2 separate regions of the Homo sapiens genome follow, and region 1 is linked to region 2. The links are contacts of gene promoters, found by promoter capture Hi-C in human tissues and cell types (Jung and others, 2019). All regions are on one chromosome and are shown on one strand. Each heading gives the region's core, a stretch centred on a gene start or on the middle of the fragment in contact. The rest is flanking DNA. Distances are from core to core; before and after follow the strand shown. Region 1 overlaps SNX10 (sorting nexin 10). Region 2 holds the start of SNX10 (sorting nexin 10).

Region 1 (6,287 bases), core at 449-2,948, 67 kb before region 2:
AAGTCCTCCTTCTGAATCCTAGGATCTCGAACCCAGACACTTACAAATTCCTGTAATGGCATCATAAACAAAGAAATATTCTTCAGAACTGCAAGTAGGACTGGAAAGAACTGAACAAAACGACTGCACTAAAACAAAACTGAAATGAGCTTTAACCAATGTGGTACTTGTAATCCTTTAAAAAACAAGAAGTAAAGTTAATGAATCAGGCACCACGAGCAAATCTAGAACACACTTTTGCCACATAATGGAATTTTTAAAATAATGCAACACTGAGGTGGGAGCACTTCTGGATAGTTTTACTGGTTATCTGAAGACAAAGTATACTGTAAAACTGATTTTTAATTTTTAATCTTAAATAATTGGTTCAGGTTTTTTTCAAATTTAAAAAGTGATCATTTCTTACTTTCTTCATCTCTCTAAACTGAAACAATGGGCCCTTCTGGGTAAGGTGCTTCCTAGGACACAAATAAGAAAGGCACCAGGCCAAGCAGGGTGGCTCACACCTGTAATCCCAGCACTTTGGAAGGATCTCTTGAGCCCAGGAGTTTGAGACCAGCCTAGGCAACATGGTGAAACCCCATCTCTACAAAAAATACAAAATTAGCCAGGCGCAGTGTGGTGCATGCCTGTAGTCCCAGCTACTCAGGAGGCTGAGGAGGGTGGATCACTTGAGCCCAGGAGGTCAAGGCTACAGTGAGCCTTGATTGTGCCACTGCACTCCAGCCTGGGCAAAAGAGCGAGACCCTGTATCAAAAGAAGAAAAAGAAAGGACACCAAAGCTCATGGGAAAAGTAAGCAAAGAGGGTTGAAGTTGACTTTGTGCATGCATCCCAGCCACATGAGAATAAGCGATAATAACTTATTAATAGAAAGAGGAACACCTTCTTTTACATAATACTTTTCTATTTTTAAAATACATTTCCCCTACATTAAATCATTTCATCTTCATAATACCTTTGTGTTATACATAGAAGTTAGGGATATTAAAAATCATATACAGTAGATAATTTTGTTCTTTTATAAAGATAATAAGAATAGAAAACATGGGGCAAAATTTAAAACAATAGGCCGGGCGCAGTGGCTTACGCCTGTAATCCCAGCACTTTGGGAGGCCGAGGCGGGCAGATCACAAGGTCAAGAGATTGAGCCCATCCTGGCCAACATGGTGAAACACTGTCTCTACTAAAACTACAAAAATCAGCTGGGCGTGGTGGCGTGTGCCTGTAGTCCCAGCTACTTGTGAGGCAGGAGAATCGCTTTAACTCAGGAAGCGGTGGTTGCAGTGAGCCGAGATCGCATCACTGCACTCCAGCCTGGCGACAGAGCAAGTCTCCGTCTCAAAAAAAAAAAAAATTAAAACAATACTTTTTAACAGGTGCTCTTTACTAAATAGGTTTAGTTTAAAAATTTGAAAATGTACAGCAAAAAACTATCATGTTTCACATAAGTTTTTAAGTATAACTTATTTACTCAGTGATCATAAACTTGCTAACTGAGTTTGATTTTAAATATTAGAGCTTTTTGATAAGATTGGGAGTTCAATGCTGGAATTCAGGCATTTCTTATTGCTTGTTGGGGCACATCTGAGAGGCAGGCTATGAACGCTTGAGAGCAGAAGAAAAAGAGAGATCGGGGGCTTTCTGGACAAAGCACCTCCATTGAATCATGCAGATAATTAAATGAGACTCTTCATCATAGAGGATTTTTTTTAATCAAAAAAATACACCACACTCTGAAAATAACTTTTGCCCCTATCAAGTTTCACCTTCTAGGGCAACACTTTGTCCTTGCACTGGAGACTTCTGTCCCACTACTTGTCTTTAGTAGACAGGGATTATGAATTACTGTTCCAAAAAGTCTTCTTTTAAAATATTTTCATTGTGTATTTTTAAAATCATTTAGGGGATAGAATAAGAACAAGATAGGCAGGGCTCACACCTGTAATCCCAGCACTTTGGGAGGCTGAGGCGGGTGGATCACCAGAGGTCGGGTGTTCGAGACCAGCCTGGCCAACATAGTGAAACCCCATCTCTACTAAAAATACAAAAATTAGCTGGGCATGGTGTTGGGCGCCTGTAATCTCAGCTACTCAGGAGGCTGAGGCAGGAAAATTGCTGGAACCCAGGAGGCGGAGGTTGCAGCAAGATCACGCCACTAAATGCACTCCAGCCCGGGCCAACAACAGCAAGACTTGGTCAAAAAAAAAAAAAAAAAAACACAAGATAACACTATAGTGATGCTCTTTGGCCATTATTTCTTTTCTTTTTTCTGTTTTTTGAGATAGGGTCTCACTCTGTCACCCAGACTGGAGTGCAGTGGTACGATCTCAGCTCACTGCAGCCTCAAACTCCAGGGCTAAAATGATCCTCCTACCTTAGCCAACCCCGCCCCCAGTAGCTGGACTACAGGCGGGTGCCACCATGCCCAGCTAATTTTTTAATTTTTTTAGAGATGGGGTCTTGCTATGTTGCCCAGGCTGATTCTGAACTCCTAGGCTCAAGCAACACCCCTGCCTCAGCCTCCCAAAGTGCTGGGATTATAGGCATGAGCCACTGTGCCCCAGCCAGTATTTCTTCTTCTCTATTTCTTTATTTTTTTCATGCGCATTAAGAGACAACCATCATTTCTTAAAAGCACATTCTAAATTATAAGAGGGATTTAAAAACCATTTTTAAACCAAATATCCATAATATCCCCTAATCACAGTGTGATAAAGCAGATTCTGCCCAGGGATGGAAACAGAAGCAAAAATCCAGGTACTCTGCTCTTGGCCTATGCTTTTCACCTCCATCTCTTGTCACCGTGTATGTGTGTGTGTCTCTTAAACTTTTAAATGCACACTCAAAATTCATTGCAGCACTAAGACTCCACATATTGTTTCAATCCTGAAAATCTTTAATTTGGTTGGAGTGCTAAATATCACTATTCTCTTGTGGATGGCAAACTTCTTCCCTCTCTGCATCCTGAAACGTTTCTGTGCCTGAGAGCCAACCCAGGCTGTTGTTCTTTGCACACTATTGCAATTCTAGGGTGACCTCATCCAAACACATTCAACCCCCTCCCATGAGCTGATGGACCCCACCCAAAGCTCCATCCCAGTGCAGGCACCTCTCCCATGGATCCAGCCTCTAGCCTGATCCACCTAGAAGTCCCTTGAGCACGCCATGTCCATACCCTTCCCACAGCATCCTGCTCCCCTTCTCAGTGAAGAGCATCTCCCACCAACCCCAGCTAGAAACCCAGTTCTCCTAGACCCCTCTGTTTGACTCATTCCCCAAATCCACACAGACCAAGTCCTTCATAGTCATTCTCCTTGGAACCACTGACAACTATTCCCTCTGCTACTGCCTTGGTTCAAGGACCTCTTGCCCAACATTAATGCAAGAACTGCTAATTTATTTCGGGGCCCATATCCAGTGCATTCCCCACATGAAGACAAGAATGGCTCCAAAACACGTATCTGATGATGTTGCTTTCCTTCTGAAAATCCTTCAAAGGTTGCCCCATAACCTTCAAGTTCAAACTCCTCAGCTAGCACAATACAGCCTTTCATGATTTTCACTCTGCTTATCTTCAAAGGCTAAGCATAGGTCCCCATAAGCAACATGCCACTTCACACTTCCATGCCTTTAACTAAGCTGTTCTCTGCCTGGATTGCTAGGCCACCCTACTGCCTTTTTTTTTTTTTTTTTTTAATCTTCTCTTTTCTTCTACTATTTTTTGCCAACTCCAATTCATTTTTCAAATGCAACTCGGTCACCACTTTTTCTGGGAACCCTTCTCAGATTCACCCAGTATGACTTATTTGACCCTCCTCTGGGCCCCTAATGTCTCTGGGATTGCCTTGGGCATAGTCCCTACTCACCACATCCTACTGTGCTGTATTGTAATTACCTGTAGGCCTCCTCTAGCAGACGCTAAGCTCCTGTAGGGCAGCTTAGGCTGTCTTGTAAGACTTGAATGCCTCATACATCCAATGCCTTCCATTAGTATCATTTAATGAATAAATAAATGCCTGTAGGAATAAACAAACTGCCTTCAGGAAAGGAAAATCAAACTTCACTTGAAATTAAAACCTCATCTACTTGGGTTCTTGGGCTCCATGAATTAATGATAAGTTATTTAGCAGCTGGTCTAAGTTTATCTTAATTTAACAAACCCCTTCCTCTAAGGATGTGCCAATTAACAGCATAAGGATCCAAGAGCAATGTTTAAGATCTGGGAGAACAAACTGTTTTCTAGCACCCTAAAGAACTCCAGAAGCACCTATTTACATAGAAATAATTGAAAATCCTTCTGATAGCTTCAGTAACTTAGTCCCCTAAGACTTGTACCAGGCAACAATTTGTTGGCCTAGTGGGAGTTAAAATATGTACTTGAAAGTAATAAAAGTACATTTATTTTAAAATATTCTATAATTCACATGGGTCTCCTCCTCCCCCACTCTGCAATTAGTAGGAATTAGTGAAGTTTCCCCATACTCTCAGCTACAAATAGCACACCCAGGAAGCCAAGGTTCACCTCTAATCTCTTAATTAGACGCATCCCTCACGACACTGCCCGCCATCCTTCAAAGGAATGTTGACAGGCTGTCAGCCACAGAGGACAGTTCCACAGCCCCTTACCTAGAATCATATGGATTTCCTAGGAAAATTGCTTCAGCAGCTGCAGTTAGTCAATTTAATAACCTTATTAAACACTTTAATGACTTCTTGGGCCTAATGACTATATGTAGTATGAGAAAGCCAGGCAGAGTGGAATTAAAAATTTAGACTAACTGTCCCTGCTGTTCTCCATGTGAAAACAGACTTCTAAAGAAAGACTCCTAGACTCTTTGAAGATCTAATTCCTGTGTTATCCTATAATAATCAGCCTTTGATTTCAATGTTCCCTGTTTTTCCCCCATCCCCACACCCCAGGTTTGACCATTATCCACTTCTACCCTATCATTTTTTTCCTTAGCCCTTAAGTGAGATGAAACTAATAATAAAAATAACTGTATTGTATTATACCAGGGCACTTGACATGTGGCAGGCATTATACCGTTTCACAAATGTTTTCTTCAATCTTTACAACAACCCTCAGAGCTCAGTATATTCTCATCCTACTTTACAGATTTTTTAAATGAGGCTTCTAAAGCTTAAGCAACTGGCCCAAAGTCAAATGACCAGCCTGAGCTAAGTTTCAAACTCAGATCTGCCTTGTTCCAAAGACTGTACTCTCAAACATGTTCTATCTCGTGATTCTTTTACTAATAATAAATATTAGGCAATTTCCAATTTCACTGTAATTGTATTGTTTTGGAGGGGGAAGTTTTTTCTGCTTTTATTAGCTAAAATGCCAGTTCAGACAACATGCTCTTCTCAAACTCTGTCCTTCTGGCTTCTTAAAGCTTTGTATTTCATTTTTGTATTTCTAGCACCAAGCATGGTACTAGCACATAGTAAGTGCATATTAAATGTTTCAGAATTAACCAACTGATTGACAAGATTTTTTAAAAAGCAGAGGTCCTCTATGCTGAAAATCTAAGATGCTATTGAAAGGAATCAAAGCAGAGACACACTATGTTCATAAATTGGAAGACGCAACATAGTAAAGAGAGAAATTCTCCCCAAATTGATCTGTAGGTTTAACACAATTCCTATAAAAAATCTCAGCAAGACTTTTTTTGAAGACATAGATGGGCTTATTCTAAAATTTATATGGAAAGGGAAATGTCTTAGAATAGCCAAAAAATTTTTGAAAAAGAATAAAGTGGGAGGAAGCCTTCTTCCCAATGTTAAGGCTACAGCAGCAAGACAATGGAGTCCTAGAGAGGGATAGACACAGAAGATCAGTGAAAGAGAACAGAAAACCCAGAGGGAGACCTACACAAATACGCCCACCTGATTTTTGACAAAGGTGCAAAAACAATTCAAAGGAGAAGGAAAAGCCTCTCAACAAATGATTATGGAACAACTGGACATCCACAGGCCAAGAGATGAACCTCAACCTAAAGCGTGCACCTTATACAAAAATCAACACCAACCAAACCACAGATGTAAATGTCAAACACAAAACATCAGAGAAAACTTTTAGAAAAACTTTTAGAAAAAAAAAAAATCAAAGAAAATCTTTCGGCCTAGGACTAGGAGAAGAGTTCTTCAACTTATCTCAAAAGGGCAATCCACATAAGGAAAAAGTGATCAATTAGGCTTCACCAAACTAAAAATCTTTGCTTTGCAAAAGATGCCGTGAATAAGGTTAAAAGGGCAAATTAAAGATTGAAGAAATATTTGCAAACT
Region 2 (6,018 bases), core at 3,475-5,974:
CCTAAACTATTAAAGGTCTCATTACCTCTTAGGCTTTTCTTATTTTTCTTATTATTAGTATTTCTTTTTAGAGTTGGGGTCTCACTGTGTCACCGAGGCTGGAGTATAGTGGTGAGATCATGGCTCACTGCAGCCTCCAGCTCCTAGGCCCAAGTGATCCTCCTACCTCGACCTCCCAAGAAGCTAGGACTACAGGTGTGTGCCGCCACACCCAGCTTTTGCCCAAGCTGGTCTCAAAGTCTTGACCTCAAGCAATCCTCCCACCTCAGCCTCCTCAGTCACTAAAATTACAGGTGTGAGCCACCAGAACCCAACTCTTTTAGTCTTCTTTTGTCGTTGGAGCATCACCCTTCAGCCAGGAGATGGCTTACTTCCCAGTGAGCCACATACTATGCAAAAATCTCAGACTTCAGGGAATTTGGGGGTTATTTGTATTTATTTATTTATTTATGAGACAGAGTCTAATTCTGTTGTGCAGGCTGCAGTACAATGGTGCAATCACAGCTCACTGCAGCCTCAACCTCCTGGGCTCAAGCGATCCTCCCACCTCAGCCTCTTAAGTAACTGGGACTACAGGCATGCGCCACCACACCCGGCCCAGGGAATTTTGTTTGAATTTCTAAATCTCTTAGCAAAAACTTTCCAATACGACAATTCTACCAAGAGGTCTGAATGGCTGCCTGTGCCTCAACCAATGCATGTCTGCAACATTCCTCTTCTTCTCCCCAAACAGCTTTTCTTTTCCTGGCTCACATCTCTCCGAGTTGTAGATTCCCATACCAAATCAGAGTAAAGTGGCTCAGCTAACAGGATCACATGCCAAACGATGTCGTATTTTGACAGGCACTTCCAGGCAGCTTTGCTGGCCTCATGCATTGGACAGCTTGGTGAGAGAGCTGGGGGTCTCTGGCAATTCGTAATTGATTGATCTGGCACCACTTAATCCACAGGGAACTATCAGGCTATAATGGAAAGAATATGAGACTGGAAGTTCAGGAACCTGAGTTTGAGTCCCGTTTTTACCTCTAATTAGCTGTGTAGTTCAGATTAAGTTATTCTGCCTCTCCATTGGGCCTTGGTAGCCTCATTTGTAAAATGAGATTATTAGAATAAAATGGTGAATAATGACTTTCTTTCCACCATGGGTGACCACGTAAGAATCTGAAGAAAGCTACAGATTCTCTCCCCCAGAATAATGCACTTTTGCAGATGAATATGAAATCAGGCTGGCCACAGTAGCTCACACCTGTAATCCCAGCACTTTGGGAGGCTGAGGTGGGTGGATCACTTGAGCTCAGGAGTTCAAAACCAGCCTGGGCAACATGGCAAAACCCCATCTCTACAAAAGTATCAAAAAAAAAAGTAAAAATGACATCATATATTTGAAAGGGGTTCACAGATCTGATAAAGACTATTTCCCTGTCCCCAGAGGCAAGATCACTGAGGCCTAGCACAAGATTTTAAAAATAACAGAGACTACAATAGAAATACATACTGAATCACAAAGCCTTGAGTAAAGTTGAATCACTTGTAGAACTAAAAGCATCTCTTCTGCAGAAACTGGGAGCAAGGAGTAGTTACTTAGGGAAAAATAAATGTAAGTATCAATAGGAGTTGCCCTTGACTGAAGCCTGGCTAAGCCCTTTACATTCGCAGGTGGGTGGCTGAGAGTTACTACTGATTCCAGACCCAGGCTCCTAGTTCAAATTTTGGCTCTCGCATTACTAGTTGTTTGACCTTGGGCTTTGTGCCTCAGTTTCCACATCTGTAAAAAGAAAGAAGAAGGGGAGAAAAACAATACCTATCTCAAGGGTTGTTAACGTACTTAGGACACTTGTAACAGGGCCTACCACACAGTAAGCCCTAGATAACTATTAGCTTATAACAGAAATCTGACACACATTTGTTGGGTAGTTAAAACTGTAAGCTGAGTTTAGAGAAATCATAAATACTCTGATGGCTTAGTTTCCCCAGAGGTAAACTGAAGACAGTAACAGAATCTGCTTCATAAGTCTGTTGTGATGCTTAATGAGACTGCCACATAAAAACTCTTTCACAATGCCTGGCCCATAATTAAGTGCTCGATAATGTCACGATGCCTGGAATATAGTAAGCACTCGATAAATGTCAGCTGTTGTATTAACAGTTCTGGGAAGCAAAGATTACCATCACCCTTTTTTATTTCTGAATAACAGGCAACTCAGAGAGTGTTAAGTGCCCCGCCAACAAAACTATACTTAGAAAATTATTATACCAAGATTTCAACTCAGATGGGTCTGGAATCACAAGTTCTAACCACTACACTATATACCTTCCTCTTTGAACAGGGCTTAGAGAACAGAAGAGCTAATTCATACCTACCAGATTACTAAGAAAAAGATGTTTGGAGATAACAATGCTAAATTTGGGGGATTCCCCACAGAGTCAACCATGAGCTTGGCCAAAAGCCCTTCTCCGCCATGCTAGGAAATGAAAATCTGCATAGACTGGCCCCTGTTCTCAACCAGTTGTCTGCCTTTCACCAAGTGGTTGTGAAACCACAGCCCTGTCACTAAAAACGGAAAAAAGAAGTTATTTTCCCCAGTAACTTAACGAGCAAAATGAAGCCTTAAAATGAAAGTAGTGATCCTAGGGCTGAGAAAAGATATCCACTGCTCCAAAGCCCAGCAGAATTGCTGTAGAACACCAACGTTACTCTTTGATTAACATACTTTTATTTTTTTTAATGAACGTGCTTATTTCTATTACTTTAGGTTACCTAACTCAGGGGTCCTTCCCATTAGTAAAATAAGAGGAAGTGTGTACCAGCCTGGAGGGGAGACTCCCTGGTGGGGCACAGTGTCAGCCTGAGCAAGTCCCACTGTCAACACTGATGTCCTCCCCAGTTAAATGGTAATCAAAAGTGAGAATGAAATGGACTGGTAGAAGAAACAGGACGACCAGTTGAGTCCATGCTAATCACTGATATTTCACATCTTCACACAGTTTCTTCTAAATGTATTTTATTTTTGTATTTTTATTAAAAACTGCCCTATCAGTCAATCTCAAGTCTACCCTTCCTTTAAAAAATAGTAATAAAAGGCCGAGCGCAGTGGCTCACCCCTGTAATCCTAGCACTTTGGGAGGCCGAGGCAGGTGGATTGCTTGAGCTCAGGACTTCCAGACCTGCCTGGGGCAACATGGCAAAACCCTGTCTCTACAAAAAAAATACCGAAGTTAGCCAGGGGTGTGGTGGCCCGCACCTGTGGTCTCAGCTACTAGGGAGGCTGAGGTGGGAGGATCACTGAAGCCTGGGAGGTGGAGTTTGCAGTGAGCCAAGATCGCACCACTGCAATCCAGCCTGGGTGACAGAATAATACCTTGTCTCAAAAGAAAAAGAAAAAAGTAAATAATATTAAGAATAATGAAGGTCCAGCTATGTACCTACCTTAGGAATAGGCATCACTGGAAGTGATGGCAGAGGCAAGGCAGGAGTCCCTGACCTCACCTCCATTCTCTCACTGAGGAGCCCCTGCAGAAGCTGGTCAACTATCCAAGCAGTCCCTGCTTCTTCCTGGCGAAGGCCTCAGCCTCCAGCCCAGCCCCCTCCTGGGAGAGGAGGGGGAGCTTATGCAATCCAAACCCAGTTCCCAGGCCCCAGAGGTGGACATAACTCCGGGGTGGAAGTCAGAAGCCTGCCAGGTTGTAGGCCTGGTTCTGCTCCCATCTGGCTGAATGATCCTGGTCCCAACACTCAGCGTCCCTCGGCCTTAGCCTCCCTGTCTGTAAAATGAAAGGTTTGATGGAGATCATGTGCAAGCCTCCTCCCCGTTCTAATTTTCTGATACCATCATTTTTAACGTGTCTTGTAGAGATAGAAGCCCTTCCTTTCAGCAGGACATGTTGCTCCCCATTCCGTGACGATCCCCCTCAATAATCCGTGTAATTTGAGAAAAGTATGATGCATCGGAACTGAAAAACAGGCTGTTGCTTTCCTGGTCACCAAATCTGATAATCAGTCAATTATATGGATTTTCCCCTGGGCCTTCTCCCTCAATCCCACAATCCCACGAATAAACCTGCCTACCCCTCCCAATTCCTCAACTCAAGGCTACCCGTTAATGAATGAATAAAAAAATAAATAAATAAATTTTAAAAACCACCTCCCCACCCCCTTCTACCCGGCCTGGTGTAAGGTGCCACAGCACTTCTTCCGTAATCTAGAATCCACCTCTGCCCCACCCTCTCCCCGGGGTGTCTTTTTAGCCAAGAATCCCTGGATCGACGCGCTCCATCTCCCCGCTCTACCGCGCTGATCATTTCTCCCTGCCCGGCACACCTCGGCTGAAAAGGAGGCGGCTCCTCTGCTCCAAGCCCAAGGGACCCAAACCTCTTTCCAGCCCGCAAGGGTGCGGGCACCTGGGAACAGCGGGAAGGGCCCGCGCCTCTGGAAAGAAGGGCCGCCGTCCCCACCTGGGCGGTGCAGGGGAGGCCCCCTCAGCGGGTCTCTTGTCACTTACGGGCGGCTCCTCCGGGCAGAACAGAGCAGGGCCGGGCCGAGCCGGGCTTGCGGGCCGCGGAGTTTGCTGACTCAAAGGCGCGCGGCGGCAGCGGCGGCGGCGAGCGCCCAGGAGCGCACACGAGCGCAGCCCCGCGCTCCCCGCGCTCCCCGCGCTCCCCGCGCACGTAGCGGCCCCGCGCCCGCGCTCAGCGCCAGCCGTCCGCCTGTGGGCGCCGCGCCTAGTGCTTCCGCCGCCTCCGCGCAGCCCAGCCCAGGTGCGCCCCCACCCTGCAGAGCTAGCCTCCTGCTTCCTGAAATTGAGTTAGGGAGGAAATGCCCCCATTAGTCCGGACGTTGAGGCTGGAGGTGCTCCAGCGGCACCCTTCGGAATTCGCCACCTGAGTCACCTTAAGCTTCCTAACCCTGACCCCACAGTTATGGGGAGGATTGCCGATGGGGAGGAGGACGGATAAATAACGTGATAAACAAGAATGGCAGAATGTTCATAGCATCTAGGTGGTGGGCTATGGTGTTTATATAAAATTATTTCAGTTTTTGTCTATGTTTGAAATGTCTCAATAAAACATTTGGGGGGAAAGCTAATGAGATCTGCCAAGGGACCTGACTGAGGAAAGCATTTCCCAAATGGCACCTGAGGCTGGGTCCCCACACCTGTTTGCATGGGAAACCACAATCATCACTTAAACTGCTAATAAGTGACTGAATGACACAGAATAATAAGCATAGCCTAATATTTCATTTTTCAAGCATGAATTTTCCCATTAGATACAGCTTGTCGCTGATCATCCTCCAGGGACCATTCCAGGCCCACCTGAAAACGCATCTGTTCACCACACCTACATTAACTCCCTAACAAAACGTATAAATATACAATGTTGTGTCTTAACATCTTGGATCTTGAAGTTGTATTGCTGAACCCTCAATCACTGGTATTTAATTTCCTAAAATTGCACCCAAGTCATGACACACAAGTGAATGCAACCATGATCACTTTTGAAAATCAAATTAAGCTGGTGTGGTGGCTCACGCTTGTAATCCCAGCACTCTGGGAGGCCGAGGCGGGTGGATTACAAGGTCAGGAGATGGAGACCATCCTGGCTGACATGGTGAAATGCCGTCTCTACTAAAAATACAAAAACTTAGCTGGGCGTGGTGGCGCGCGCCTGTAATCCCAGCTACTCGGGAGGCTGAGGCAGGAGAATAGCTTGAACCCGGGAGGCAGAGGTTGCAGTGAGCCGAGATCATGCCATTGCACTCCAGCCTGGGCGACAGAGCAAGATTCTGTCTCAAAAAAAAAAGAAAGAAAATCAAATTAAAGTGTATTTTTTATATTCTTGTCCCTATGCTCCGCAAAGAAAAACATTGAGTAGAAAACAAAATGCAGCATGTATCTAAGATCCTAAGAGATTCTGTAAAATTAAAATCTTTCTGAACTTATTGTCAAGAGCATGACTTTACAGCTGTAGACAAAGCAGCAACAAACCCTTGGAGAGTCTACTGAAAGTCATTTGAATATC

The links. Contacts are between HindIII fragments. The study calls those that stand out against the background at their distance.
Region 1: a fragment that was not itself captured here is called in contact with the fragment with the promoter of SNX10 in region 2 in 4 of the 25 tissues and cell types used here (hippocampus, pancreas, spleen and 1 more).

The regions. Positions count from the first base shown.
Region 1 is chr7:26,354,738-26,361,024 of GRCh38, reverse strand. SNX10 (sorting nexin 10) reads right to left here. Exons shown (of 7, transcript NM_013322.3): 3 at 1-50. Among named protein-coding and RNA genes, the nearest start is that of LINC02981, 41 kb to the left of the region's middle. The HindIII fragment of the contact is 9,864 bases long and covers 1-6,287 here.
Region 2 is chr7:26,290,568-26,296,585 of GRCh38, reverse strand. It overlaps SNX10 (sorting nexin 10), which reads right to left and starts at 4,724. Exons shown (of 7, transcript NM_013322.3): 1 at 4,500-4,724. RefSeq lists an enhancer at 2,690-2,739 and silencers at 4,231-4,310, 4,461-4,700. The HindIII fragment of the contact is 12,028 bases long and covers 1-6,018 here.